Linked DNA regions of Homo sapiens: region 2 is linked to region 1. The links are contacts of gene promoters, found by promoter capture Hi-C in human tissues and cell types (Jung and others, 2019). All regions are on one chromosome and are shown on one strand. Each heading gives the region's core, a stretch centred on a gene start or on the middle of the fragment in contact. The rest is flanking DNA. Distances are from core to core; before and after follow the strand shown.

Region 1 (7,061 bases), core at 2,168-4,667:
GAGGAAAAATGTTTTCCATGCTATACACTCATAGGTCACAGACAGCAGCTTTGTACAGAGGCCATAAATATTCTGTTACCACCCAGATGGCCCTGACTAATTAATTCTTTCTTTCATTCGTTTATGTTTATGATGAACTCATAGATATTTCTTTGACATCAGGCATGATTTGCTTTTTTAAGACGTTTAATGATCATGGCTAATCTAAGCAAAATACATAGCATATACAGTGACTGACTTCTCAAAATCTTTAATCACAAAACACTTCCACTACCATTTTCCTTCAGGCAAAAAAATATAGCAAATGACTGTGAAGCAAAGAAAGCAGCAGGCCTTTATCATTTTGATTCTACCTTACCACTTGAAATGTTTCTCTTCTGGCAAAATGCATTATTTTATTCCACTATTTCTGACAATGACAAAAAAGAAAAACATACTCCACAGGAAGTATTTGCTTTACAATAGCATACTTTAATAATCAGCCTCTGCTGGTACAGGAGGAATGCTGAGGAATGTTCCTATAACATATAACCTTTAATAACTGGCCTCCAGTAATACAGAAGTTTCTATGTGACATTAACGGTTATATGTGGCAAGCCCACAGCTAACATCATATTTAATGGTGAAAAGCTAAAAGCTTTTCCTCTAAGATCAGAAATAAGAGAAGAATGCCCCCTCTGACCATTTCTGTTCAACAGAGTACTGGAAGTCCTAGTCAGAGCAATTAGACTAAAGACAGAAAATATTCATATAGGAATATTCGTATAGGAAAGGATGTATTCATGTAGGAAAGGATGAAGTGAAATTGTCTGTTTCCTGATGAAATAATCTTATATGTAGAAAATCTAAAGACTTCAGTACAAAAGTGCTAGAACTGATAAACAAATTCAGTAAACTTGAAGGATAAAAAATCAACATGCAAAAATCAGTGGCATTTTTATACACTAGCAACAAAATATCTAAAAAAGAAATTAAGAGAACAATTAATTTATAGTAGCATCAAAAAATAAAATACTTATGAATAAATTTAATCAAGGAAGAGAAAGATCTATATACTGAAAACTACAAATCATTGATGAAAGAAATTGAAGATGACACAAATAAAGGCAAAGATATCCCATGTTCATGGATTGGAAAAACTAATAGTGGAAAAATGTCCATATTACCCAAAGCAATATACAGATTCAGTGCAATCCCTATCAAAATTTTAATCTCATTCTTCACAGAAATAGAAAAAAAATCTTAAAATTTGTATGGAACCACAAAAGACCCCAAATAACTAAAGCAAATTAATCAAAAAGAATAAAGCTGGAGGCATCACACCACTGAACTGCAAAATATGTTACAAAGCTATAGTAAGCAAAACTGCATAGCATTAGCATAAAAATAGACACACTGATTAAAGGAAAAGCGTAGAGAACCCTGAAATAAGCCCACACATCTATAATCAATTGATTTTTGACAAAGGTGCCAAGAACATACAATGGGGAAAGCACTCTTCAGCAAAAGGTGTTGGGAAAACTGGATATTCATATGCAAAGAATAAAAGAGAATCCTAATCTCACCCTTATACAAGAATTAACTCAAAATGAATTAAAGCCTTAAGCATAAGACCTGAAACTAAAAACTACTGAAAGAAACCATATAGAAAAACTCCATGACATTGGTCTAGGCAATGATTTCTTGGATATGATCCTAAAAGTACAGGCCATGAAAGCAAAACTAGACAAATGAGATTCTGACCACCCAAAATACTTAGAAACTCAAATTACTCAATAACAAATAAATAATTCTATTTAAAACGAGCAAAGGGGTCAAGTGCAATGGCTCATGTCTGTAATTCCAGCACTTTGAGAGACAAAGGTGGGTGGATTGCTTGAGCCCAAGAGTTCAAGACCAGCCTGGACAACATAATGAGACCACATCTCTACAAAGCATTAAAAAATTATCCAGGCATGGTGGCATACACCTGTAGCCCCAGCTACTTGGGGGTCTAAGGTAGAAGGATGGCTTGAGCCCAGGAGCTCAAGGCTGCAGGGACCATGATCCCATCACTACACTCCATCCTACAACAGAGCAAAACCCTGTCTCTATTAATTAATTAATTAATTAATTAATTAAATGGGCAAAGGATTTGAGTAGACATTTTTCAAAAAAAGACATACAAATGGCCAAGATATATTTTTTAAATACTCAACAAATTTAATCATCAGAGAAATGCAAATTAAAACCACAATGAGATAACTCATCACAACTCATAGATAAGATATTATTATTATCAAAAAGATAAAAAGATAACAAGTGTTGACAAAGATGTGGAATAAAGTGAACCTTGGGTATGTAAATTAGCATTGTGATTTGAGAAAACAGTATGGATGTTCCTAAAAAAAACAAAAATAGAACTATCAGATGATCCAGCAATCCCACTACCAGTATATACCCAAAGGAATTGAAGTCAGTATGTGGAAGACATGTCTGTACTTCCATGTTTATTGCAGTGCTATTGACAATAGCCAAGATATGGAAACAACCTAAGTGTTCATCAATAAATTAATGGATTTTGTATGTGACATATATGTACAATGAAATGCTATTCAGCCTTTTAAAGAGGAAAAAATATTCTTATTTATGACGGCATGGATGAATCTACAGAACATCATATTAATTAAATAAGCCAGGCAGAGAGAGGCAAATATCATATATGATCTCACTTCTATGTGGAATCTTAAAAAGTTAAACTCAGAGAAGTAGAGATTAGAATGGTGGCTACCAGAGGCTGGCAGGTGGAGATGGGCCAAATAAGGGGATACGTTGGTCAACAGGTACAGAGTTACACTTAGATAGGAGGAATAAGCTCGGGTGTTCTATTGGACAGCAAGGTGACTATAATTAATATTAATGTACTGTATATTTCAAAACAGCTAAAAAAGAGGATTTTAAATGTTCTCACTACAAAGAAATGACAAATATTTGAGATGATGGATATGCTAATTACCCTGATATGATCAATTCACAATCTATACATGTATCAAAATGTAATATTGTACCCCATTAATATATACAATTATCATTTATCACTTTAAAATGAAATAAAACTTTAAGAATTGTGAGGTTAAATACACCTTGTACATTACTGGAGGAACATAAAGCATACTTACATTGGTTAAGGATTTGCTCATGTCCTTAACATCTAACTGCAGGATATTTCCAATAATCGGGAGAGGAGTGGGGCCAGACGGGAGCCTCCCTCTTCCAGAGCTCTGCCTCCAGAGTGAAAGGAGAAACAAACAGGAGAGACAGAGCACCAGAGCCACAGCTGGATCCATTGAAGGCTTCTCTTCTTAGTAAGACAACTGCGGGCTTTCACTTCAAGGCTTTTATAACACTCCCTACTAATCCACCTGTGATTCTGACTCTGACTGTGACTAGTCAGCAAAAAGCACTTTAATCTCTCTTTTGAATGAACATTGGCTCACTGAAGAAGATAAAAATAAGGTGTTCTTTTTTCTTGTTCTTTCCGGTGCCCCACCCTGGAGATTCTGGTTTAACTAGTCTGAAGCAGAGCCCAGGATTTTGTTGTTGTTGTTGTTGTTTTTCCTTGAGATGGAGTTTCGCTCTTGTTGCCCAGGCTGGAGTGCAATGGCAAGATCTCAACTCACTGCAGCCTCCACTTCCTGGATTCGAACGATTCTGCCTCAGCTTCTGGCGTGGCTGGGATTACAGGAATGCACAACTACGCCCAGGTGATTTTGTATTTTTAGCAGAGACAGGGTTTCACCATGTTGGCCAGGCTGGTCTCCCTAAGTGCTGGGATTACAGGCATGAGCCACCGTGCCTGGCTAGGCCTAGGTTTTTTCAAACAGCCCAGGTGGTTCCACTGTGCAGCCAAAATTGAGAAACAATGAAATAAATTATTTCATCAAAAAATTATTCAAAATTTTGGATTTTTAGATTGATGAGCAGTTGGAAATATGACTTTGAGGGCAATCTGTGTATTATATTCCTTGTACATAAAATAATGTTTATCCTATTGAGAGGAGTTAGCCAGCTTGCATTAGGCAGGCAGTAAGGGAAGGGTCCCCAGAGAACCTCCAACCCTTCCAGGTCATTGCCCAATCCACAAAAACCCCAAGTACTTACACTAGATGTTTTGTGCAGATAAGGGAACTTGCACAGGGAGCTTGCCTAAATATGCCCACAGTGAAAAATTCCTACCTTTAACACATGCGCAGGAAGGGAAATAAATCAATATGGAGTGGCTTAGACTAAGAGCCCACACGCGCAATGGAAGGAAGGGGTGGAAACACCAGGAATTCACGCCTTATGCAAATAAGTATCCCAGCCTCATCAGCTTTTCTATAAAAGTCCTGGTATTCAACTGTGAAGTGGCAATCTGCAACCTGCTTTCAGGGCCTCTCTCTTTGCTGAGAGTTTTCCTTTCACTTAATAAATTCTACTCCACTCACTCTCCAGTGTCTGTGTGCCTAATTCTTCCTGCATAAGACAACTCGGACCTAGCTGAGCTAAGGATCTGCAAGACTGCAACACTATAATGCTTTCTCAAACACTAGATCATTTTCCTTGAAAATGAGATCCTTTTGAAATATTTTAATGTAGTACTAACATTACAGCTGCCTAAACATAAAGCAGCTAACAAACTCATTCATCTTAAATGGCTAAACCGGTTATCAATTAACTAAGTAAACATACACACCTTTTTCCATTAAACCCCGTGAAAAACACTGGACGGCTGAGAATATTATTTCATATTTTCCAAATGGGGAAAGGGAGACTCTAGGAGAACAGATGACCTGTCCAGTGTCCCACAGCTCATAAATGGCAGGCTGGGATTTGAACTGAGATCTTCTGACGCCCGCTGTGGTATATTCTCACTTACACCAGAGCTGCCTTGAGAACAGTTTTAGCAAAATAAAATAAATCCTAAAAACATTTCTCACTCTGAATCTACACCACACTGTTCACAAAATAACAGGGTTGTACATTCTCAAGAGAAGAAATAAAAGCTAGGGTTTCTCCCCTCTCTGTCACTGAAGAGCTGAAACCTACTCAGTATAACTGAGGAAAGAGCCAATCTCAGAGAATTAAGTGGGTAAGATCTCAGAAACTATGGCTTCTCCAGCTCCCACTTGCCTCCAGACACTGCTGTTTCTATTGCTTTTTTGGTCTGTGTCAGAAATAATGGAATGAAATATTGCACAGCAAGGAAGGGGAATTATAGGCAGAACAACAGGCATGTGCTTCAGTGGTGAATGGGAGGTAGGGAAATCATTAAACAGACCCATGGCACAGAACAAACACAGTTGTGCAGACCTGAACTGGAGATGACATTTAGCGCTCATGAGGCTCTATATATCACTAAAATGATACATACATTTCTAGATCACTAATGGCAATGCTTGTACAAAGGCATATTCTGTAAAGATGTCATTGTGGTATTCTAAATGACTAGTACAGTTATTTGTTTATTTCCATTGTATATATTTAAGGTATACAACATTGGTAGACATATAAACAGTGGAATCATTACTATGGTTAAACAAATTTACATATTAATCAATTCTATAATTAACTTCTTTTTTGTGGTATAAGCACCTAAAATCTACTCTTTTAGCAAATTTTCAGTATAGTATATTAACTATAGTCCTCTTGCTGTTTATTAGATCTTTAGACTTATTCATCCTATCTAACCACAAATTTGGCTCTTTGACACACTTTTTTCCATTTCCTCTGGCTCCCACTTTTGGTAACCACCATTCTACTCTCTGTTTCTATGTATTTGACTTTTTAAAGATTCTTCATATAAGTGAAATCATGCAATCTTTTTTCCTCTGTATCTAGCTCATATCACTTAGCATAATATCCTTCAGGTTCATTCCATGTCATTGCAAATGGCAGTATCTCCTTTTAAAGTTTAAAAAATATTTCATTGTGTATATAAATATAAAACACAATTTCTTCATCCATTTATTTGTGAATGAACACTTAGATTGTTTCTACATCCTGGCTATTGGAAATAATACTGGATTAGTGCAGTTATTTCTAACTGCAGTAAGGAAAAATTAAGTTTTGTCAAATCCCATATGGACAATGTTTTATCAAACATGTTTACAGGGATTCTGACAATTCACAGAGAATTTTTATACCCATCATAACTCTTTTGATTCTCTCAATTACCCTTGCCTGTGGTAAAATTATTTCCACTTTAGAGGTAAGGAAGCTGGGCCTTGGAGATTCAGTATTTTGTTCAAGGACACAGAGGCTGAAAATGATAGGGCTGAGGCTGGAAACCTATCTCCTAACTCTGACATCATTCCCTCCAAGCAAGAAATTCAGTTCAACTAGAGTCACCAACATTTACTTACCATGTACTATGAGGCAATATTTCACTACTCAGGATAATCAGTGACTTTCAAATACACATTAACCAACTCAACAGTTGCAACATAGGTTGATTACAATTAGGGTGTGGTTTTGTAACCTTTAGAATTTGAGTCAGTCGAGGTTTTGGTGAATAATTTATCTGAGACAAAGAAAAATAGTTATTTTACTGCTTGGCTCACATAGCTCTGAACTCTAAAAGAAGTGCACTACCTTCTTTTAGATAAAATGATCTCAATGCCTTTCTTTAAAACAATCACTTTATTTCTTGAAAAATGGGTCTCTGTTCCTCCTTTCTGTTGAGACTTCTGCCTGGTCCTTTCAAAGAATGAAAGAAACATAGATAATTAGAGACAAGAGATCTCAGAGATCCACCAGCCTAATCCCTACTTTATTATTAGAAATAAGGAATTGGTGAATAAGTGAGGTGAACGGTCGCTAGTGCATTAGTACATAATCTTTATTTTTTAAGAATCCAGGTTTTAATTCCCAGTTCAGTGATTCTCACATTGCAGAGATTTCCTATCATTGCCCAAATGGATGGTCAGGAGGGCACCTGGCTGAAGCCCTCCACAGTGAGAGAGTAATGCAAACCTCAGCTTGGGTGAAATTGTGAATGCAAACTGCTTCGTTTTAAATAAACCTTTTCACTGGAGTGTAGT
Region 2 (7,061 bases), core at 2,942-5,441, 99 kb before region 1:
AATTTCTCAAAGAACTAAAAACAAAATTATCATTTGATGCAGCAATTCCACTACTGGGTACATATCCAGTGGAAAACAAATTGTTATACCAAAAAGACACATGTGCTCATATGTCCATCTCTGCACTATTCACAATAGCAAAGACACAGAAGCAACCAATGGTGTGTGGCATAAAGAAAATGTGGTATATATACACTATGAAATGCTATGCAGCCATAAAAAAAATCATGTCTTTGCAGCAACATAGATGCAGCTGGAGGCCATTGTCTTGAGAGAATTAATGCAGCAACAGAAAATCAAATGCCACGTGTTCTCATATAAAAGTGGGACACAAAGATGGAAACAATACACACTGGGAATTACTATAGATGGTAGAGAGATATAAAGGCAAGAGCTGAAAAACTACCTATTGGGTACTATTCTCACTACCTGGGTGATGAAATTATTTGTACCCTAAACTTCAGCATCACACAATAAACCCATGTAACAAACTTGAACATGCACTTCCTGAATCTAAAATAAAAGTTGAAAATTTTTTTAAAAAGAAAGTATTTCATATGGTATCATTTTAAAATCAGGCAAGCAATGATCATAACTAAATACAAAATTTAAGGTAAACTTGCCTTTCAAACTAAACCAGACCCTTGCAAAAGAGGAAAAAAGAATATCTAATACCTAAATAAATTGAAAACTCTTCAATGTTCCAGGATTGGAAGACTTAATATTGTTAAGATGGCAATACTCCTCAAAGTGATCTAAAAATTCTATGCAATCCCTACCAAAATACCCGTGACCTTTTTCCAGAAATGGGAAAGTTGATTGTCCAATTCATATGCAACTACATGGTGATGAAGCAGCTACATTACCTGGGATATATACCCTCAGGTTTGTCATCGTACCCCAGGAAAATTTAGGACATGGACACATCTGAGTGGGTTAAGGAGCAGGTAGTTTAATAACAGAAGAAAGGAGAAAAAGAGCAGCTTCTTGTGAGAGAGAGAGAGAGAGACATCCAAAGAGGGGGAAGGAGGCGGACCACAGCAGATTTTATAGGCAGGCCGGAAAAGGCAGTGTCTGATTTATATAGGGCCCAAAGATTGGCTCAATCAGGTGTGGCATTTACATAGTGGGCAGGGAAGGCTGGCCAACCCACTCTAATGTTATTATGCAAATGGACTTTCCACTTGACCAGCGCCATCTTGTCTGCTCCTTACTGTACATGTGGCTGGCAAAGGGAAGGGAAGATAGAGCTGCCATTTTGAACATGCCTAGTCACAGGTAGTTCTTTCCTATCAGCATTCACCGGGCAGGCTTCCAGCTTGCTTGTCTATGACTGCAGCTCGATTTTACGCGATGCTCTTTGCCAGACAATGATTTAGGGTTGCTTTTCATTAAAAAGAAAAACCTTACTGAGAATTCCCAAATGCTTACTCTCTGCCTAAGTAATTTCTTCTTAATTTCTGTATCAGTGAGTTCTCAGTTTCTGACTTCAAAACTTACTACAAAGTATAATAATCAAAAGTGTGGTACTAGCATAAAGATAGACATCAAGACCAATGGAATAAAACTGAAATCAAGAAATAAACCTAAACATCTGTGGCCAATTTACTTTCATCAAGGGTGCCTAGACCATTCAGTCCGAGGAAAGAATCTCTTCAACAAATGGTGATGAGTCAATTGGATGACAAAATACAAAAGAATGTAGCTGGGACCTACCCTACCTCACTCCAAATGAAAAATATAACTGAAAAATGGACGGAAAAACTTAAATATAAGGGCTAAAACTATAAAACTCTTAGAATAAAATGTAGGGGTAAATCTTCATGACTTCATATTTGGCAATAGGTTCATAAATTTGATACCAGAGGAGCAAAAGAAAAAATAGATAAACCAAACTTCATCAAAATTAAACTTTGTGCATCAAAAATATAATTAGGAATGTGAAATGACAACCAACAGAATGGGAGGAAATATTTTCATATTATGTATATGTAAGAGTTTAATGTTTTGAAAACATAAACAATTCTAATAGCTTAAAAAGAAAAATAAAGGCAACTTAATTTAAATAGGAAATGGACTTGAATAACATTTCTCCAAAGAAGATATACAAATGGGTAACAGTATATTAAAAGAAGTTCAAAATCACTGGTCATTAAATACAAGTTAAAACCACAATGAGAGCTGGGCATGGTGGCTCACACCTGTAATCCCAGCACTTAGGGATGCCAAGGTGGGCAGATCACCTGAGGTCAAGAGTTCGAGACCAGCCTGGCCAACATGGTGAAACCCTATCTCTACCAAAAATATAAAAATTAGTCAGGTATGGTGGCACATTCCTGTAATCCCAGCTACTCTGAAGGCTGGGGCAGGAGAATTGCTTGAATGAGATCATGCTACTGCACTCGAGCCTAGGCAACAGAGTGAGACTCTGTCTCAAAATAAATAAATAAATAAATAAATAATGAGATACCACTTTACATTCACTAGGAGGGCTTTAATAAACACAGAAAATTACAAGTATTAGCAACTATGTGGAGAAACAGAAATCCTTCTACATTGCTGGAAGGAATATAAAATGCCACATTCACTGTAGAAAAATTTGGCTCTTATACAAGAAGATAAACATAAAATTACCATTTGACCCAGCAAATCAACTCCTGAGAATACACCCAAGAATGATGAAAACATGCCCATAAAGAAACATACACAAATGGTTAAAGAAAGATTATCTATAAGAGCCAAAAGTTGGAAACAATGCAAATGTCCACAAACAGATGAATAACAATTTGTGATAAATGTGCATAGAAAATAAAATATACTTTATCCACAAAAAGAATGAAGTACAGATATATGCTACAACTTAGATGAGCCTCCAAAACATTGTAAGTGTAAGGACCCAGAAATAAAAGGTTGCATATGCTATGAATTCTTTATATATCCATAACACGCAAACCCATAGAGACAGAAAAAAGATTAGAGGTTATTACATGATGGAGTGGGGGAATGGAGTGATTATTTAGCGAATATAATACGTTTTTGTGGCGTGATAAAAACATTTTGAAACCAGAGAAAGCTGATGGTTGCACAACATTGTGAATACATTAAATACCACTTAGGTGTATGCTTTAAACTGGTTAATTGTATGTTGTGTGAATTTTACTTCAATTTTTAAAATGGCATAACTCCCTGTTCTACAGATTTAATGCAATCCTGTCAAAATTCCCATTGGCTCCTTTGAAGAAATTGACAAGTTGATCCTAAATTTCATATGAAGATTCAAGGGACCCAGAATAGTGAAAACAGTATTGAAAAAGAACAACAAAAGACTCACACTCCTTGATTTAATAAGTTGATATTAATACAAAGGTACAGTAATTAAGACTTCAAGATGGTGTACTATAGGCATTAGGACAGACACATAGATCAATGGAGTAGAATTGAGAGCCCCCCAAAAAAAACCCTTCACACATTTATAGTCAATTGGGTTTTGACAAGGTTGTCAAGACAATTCAATAGGAGGAAAAAATAGCCTCTTCAAAAATGGTGCAATGACAAAAGAGGTGATGTTTACACGGTATCTGATAGATACCAAATTCCAATTCTTATCTGTACAAATCATTTTAGTTTACACTCAATGAAGCCTTCCCTCTTCCATCCACCTACTCTTTTCCATCACACACCTCTACACCTCCATGTAAAGCATTCCAACCCATCTGAAACCCCTCTTCTGACTCTCACTGCAAATATTTTAAGGCCTATTTCAATCTGCAGGAATGCAGGAAACCCACCTAGGTTAAACCATTCTTTCCCATTCTCCAATAAACTGTGTGCAATAATGATGCCCATTTTCATCCTATGACATAATATTTTATATTTTCTAACTTGTTCATAATTGCTTCCATTTCACCTAAAACCTGCATTTTGTTTCCCCTTGGGTAGATTTTTGTTATTGTTATTATTATTATACTTTAAGTTCTGGGATACATGTGCAGAACGTGCAGGATTGTTAAATAGGTACACACGTGCCATGGTGGTCTCCTGCACCTATGAACTTGTCATCTACATTAGGTATTTCTCTTAATGTTATCCCTCCCCAAGCCCTCCACCCCTTGACAGGCCCCAGTGTGTGATGTTCCTCATCCTGTGTCTATGTGTTCTCATTGTTCAACTGCCACTTATGAGTGAGAACATACGGTGTTTGGTTTTCTGTTCCTGTGTTAGTTTACTGAGAGTGGGGGCTTCCAGCTTCATCTATGTCCCTGCAGAGGACATGAATTCATCTTTTTTATGCCTCCATAGTATTTTATGGTGTATATGTGCCACATTTTCTTAATCCAGTCTGTCATTGATGTACATTTGGGTTGATTCCAAGTCTTGGCTATTGTGAATAGTGGCACAATAAACAAATGTGTACATGTGTCTTTATAATAGAATAATTTATAATCCTTTGGATATATATCCAGTAATTGGATTGCTGGGTCAAATGGTATTTCTAGTTCTAGATCCTTGAGGAATTGCCACACTGCCTTCCACAATGATTGAACTAATTTACGCTCCCACAAACAGAGTAAAAACATTTCTATTTTTCCACATCCTCTTCAGCATCTGTTATATCCTGACTTTTTAATGATCGCCATTCTAACTGGCATGAGATGGTATCTCATTGTTGTTTTTATTTGCATTTCTCCAATGACTTCTTTTGAAAAGTGTCTGTTCATATCCTTCACTCACTTTTTGATGGAGATGTTTTTTATTTTCTTTTAAATTTAAGTTCCTCCTGTGCTGATCTCACTGGAAGCTGCAGAACAGAGCTTTTCCTATCCTGACATCCTTATTGTTCAGATAGATTATATTTATCTAAACAATTTCTTCTATGTATTCTAATTATTTAACAATTTAATTTTACATTTTCTATGATGCTTACTGGATATTCATGCATACAATAAAAACTTAAATATGCTTCTCAAGCATTACTCCTTGACCTGTTAAACATCCGTAGTAAACACAAAACTAGTCAATGAATCACAAATACGCAAGCAGTCACATAACTAAGCTTTTGTTAACATTTTACCTTCTCCATTTTGATCAGGAAGCAATCAATAAAGTCCCGAGGGTTGTTGATGTCCATCGATTCTTGGTGTTCTTTTACTTTCTCCAAAATATCACTTTCCATAAAAGCAAGGTTTTTAAGTAATTTGTTATGGGTTCCCGGGAAATAATCAATGATAGTGGGAAAATTATTGCATATCTAAGAGAAAACAATAATTTATTAAATTAAAAGCATTTAATAAAGGTATAGATACAATATGCCAAGCTCTGGTTGTAATTTAAAACTATAAATATAAATAAAATATATTGTATATCTTGATGGGGAAATTTTTATTGTACATGTGTAGTAATTCTCTGATTATACAAGATTTGAGAAAGAAAATTCTGACAAGAGAATCAAAGATGATAATCATTTCCTAGACTTATACCTGCTTTTGATAGTATAAAAGCATCTTTATATTAATTCTCTTACTTTTTACAACAATTCTTCTCTACAATCTTGAAATATAAGATGGTATGAATTACTACATTAACATTTTGGAGATGATAGCATAGGTTAAAAGAGTTTGCACAACCTGATTGATACTACAAAGATAGTCCCTGCTATATTGATTTCTATCAAGCAGCCTCTGAAATTGAATTAGTATTTTAGAAGTGGGAGGGGCTCAAAGATACTTCAAATTCCAACTGTGCACCAGAGCAGTTAAATGACTTCTGTAAAATCATACAATTATTATTTAGGCAGAGTATAAAACATGCCAATTCAGCACAGGGTAAAAGTGTGATGTCTGTTTATGGTTCATACACCAAAAAAACAATAATTTTTTCATTCCTAACCAGCTGTCTCATCAGCTAGAATCCCAACTGAGACATCAAACACCTCTGCCCTATTCAGTGTTTCTTGGCAGCTTCTGTGGTTCCAAATATTCTCTGTCCTTGAAGGAGATAATGTCTTTTAGATTAGGATATTTCTGTCACACAATATGACAAAGTGTGAATTGAAGGACAAGCCTTGTGAGTAATGGAAGACTCCAAAGTGCCTGGATGTCCATGGAGTGATATAAGCACGCTTTGGGGCTGTCACCAAAGTACTTTATAGAAACAGGGCTTTGGAGTTTAGTGGAAAAAACACTGATCAGGGAGCTAATGGGCTTAGAAGCCTGATCTATATTGGGATATTCATTTCCTGTGCATAAAATAAAGAACTTTGCCATCTTTTCCAGATATTCACCCCATGGCTGTCTAGGCAAGACTGTAGTATTCAAAAATGTACTTCAGGGCTTGGTCAATATAGAATTTTGGATTTCCCAGAAAAAAAGACTGTAAGTGGTTTCTCAGGAAGCAAAAAACTTGGCCTTACCTGGATCCAGGGGGTGCTTACAATCCTGATGTTTTCATTCAATTTTTCCATCAAGTTAAGAAATTGCTGATCTTTATAATCGAAACGTTTCTGGAAAATAATGGAGCAGATCACATTGCAGGGAGCACAGCCCAGGATGAAAGTGGGATCACAGGGTGAAGCTAAATGATTGGAAACAATTTTAAAATATGAGTAAACATTAGATATAAAACACTTCATATTTGTTAACAGATAATAATAGTTTAGAAATTTTAAGTAATATCTTACCTATGAATTCCCTTAAAAGCAAAAAAGAGTTTGGCATGCATAAAATCAACACATCACTTTTACATTAATCTCGAATTAACAATTACAGCCTAGCTGGTTAAATAATGGTTGCTCAAATGCTAAATTTACATTCCCGGCCTATTTGTCTTTTACTTTGGAAAGAAAAAAAGAGACTTTTTTAGAAACCAAATAATTCAAGTTTCAGAGGGAATCACATCAGTCTGCAAAGTCTGTAGACAACAAAGCACTGAGATAGAAAGGGTGAGAATAGTTGGGGATTTCAAAGCTTTTTATATTACAACAAATAGCTCAAAGAATCATGTATTGAACCAGTAGAGAGGAACTAGAGAGACTAGGGGTGAATTCATGTATTTGAGAAAATAAA

The links. Contacts are between HindIII fragments. The study calls those that stand out against the background at their distance.
Region 2: a contact is called between a fragment that was not itself captured here and the fragment with the promoter of CYP2C18 in region 1, in 4 of the 25 tissues and cell types used here (H1 embryonic stem cells, liver, spleen and 1 more).

Annotation. Positions count from the first base shown.
Region 1 is chr10:94,680,085-94,687,145 of GRCh38, reverse strand. CYP2C18 (cytochrome P450 family 2 subfamily C member 18) reads right to left here and starts at 3,417. Exons shown (of 9, transcript NM_000772.3): 1 at 3,159-3,417. The coding sequence starts at 3,326. The HindIII fragment of the contact is 11,159 bases long and covers 1-7,061 here.
Region 2 is chr10:94,780,008-94,787,068 of GRCh38, reverse strand. CYP2C19 (cytochrome P450 family 2 subfamily C member 19) reads right to left here. Exons shown (of 9, transcript NM_000769.4): 4 at 6,410-6,570; 5 at 5,072-5,248. Among named protein-coding and RNA genes, the nearest start is that of CYP2C19, 21 kb to the right of the region's middle. The HindIII fragment of the contact is 7,000 bases long and covers 692-7,061 here.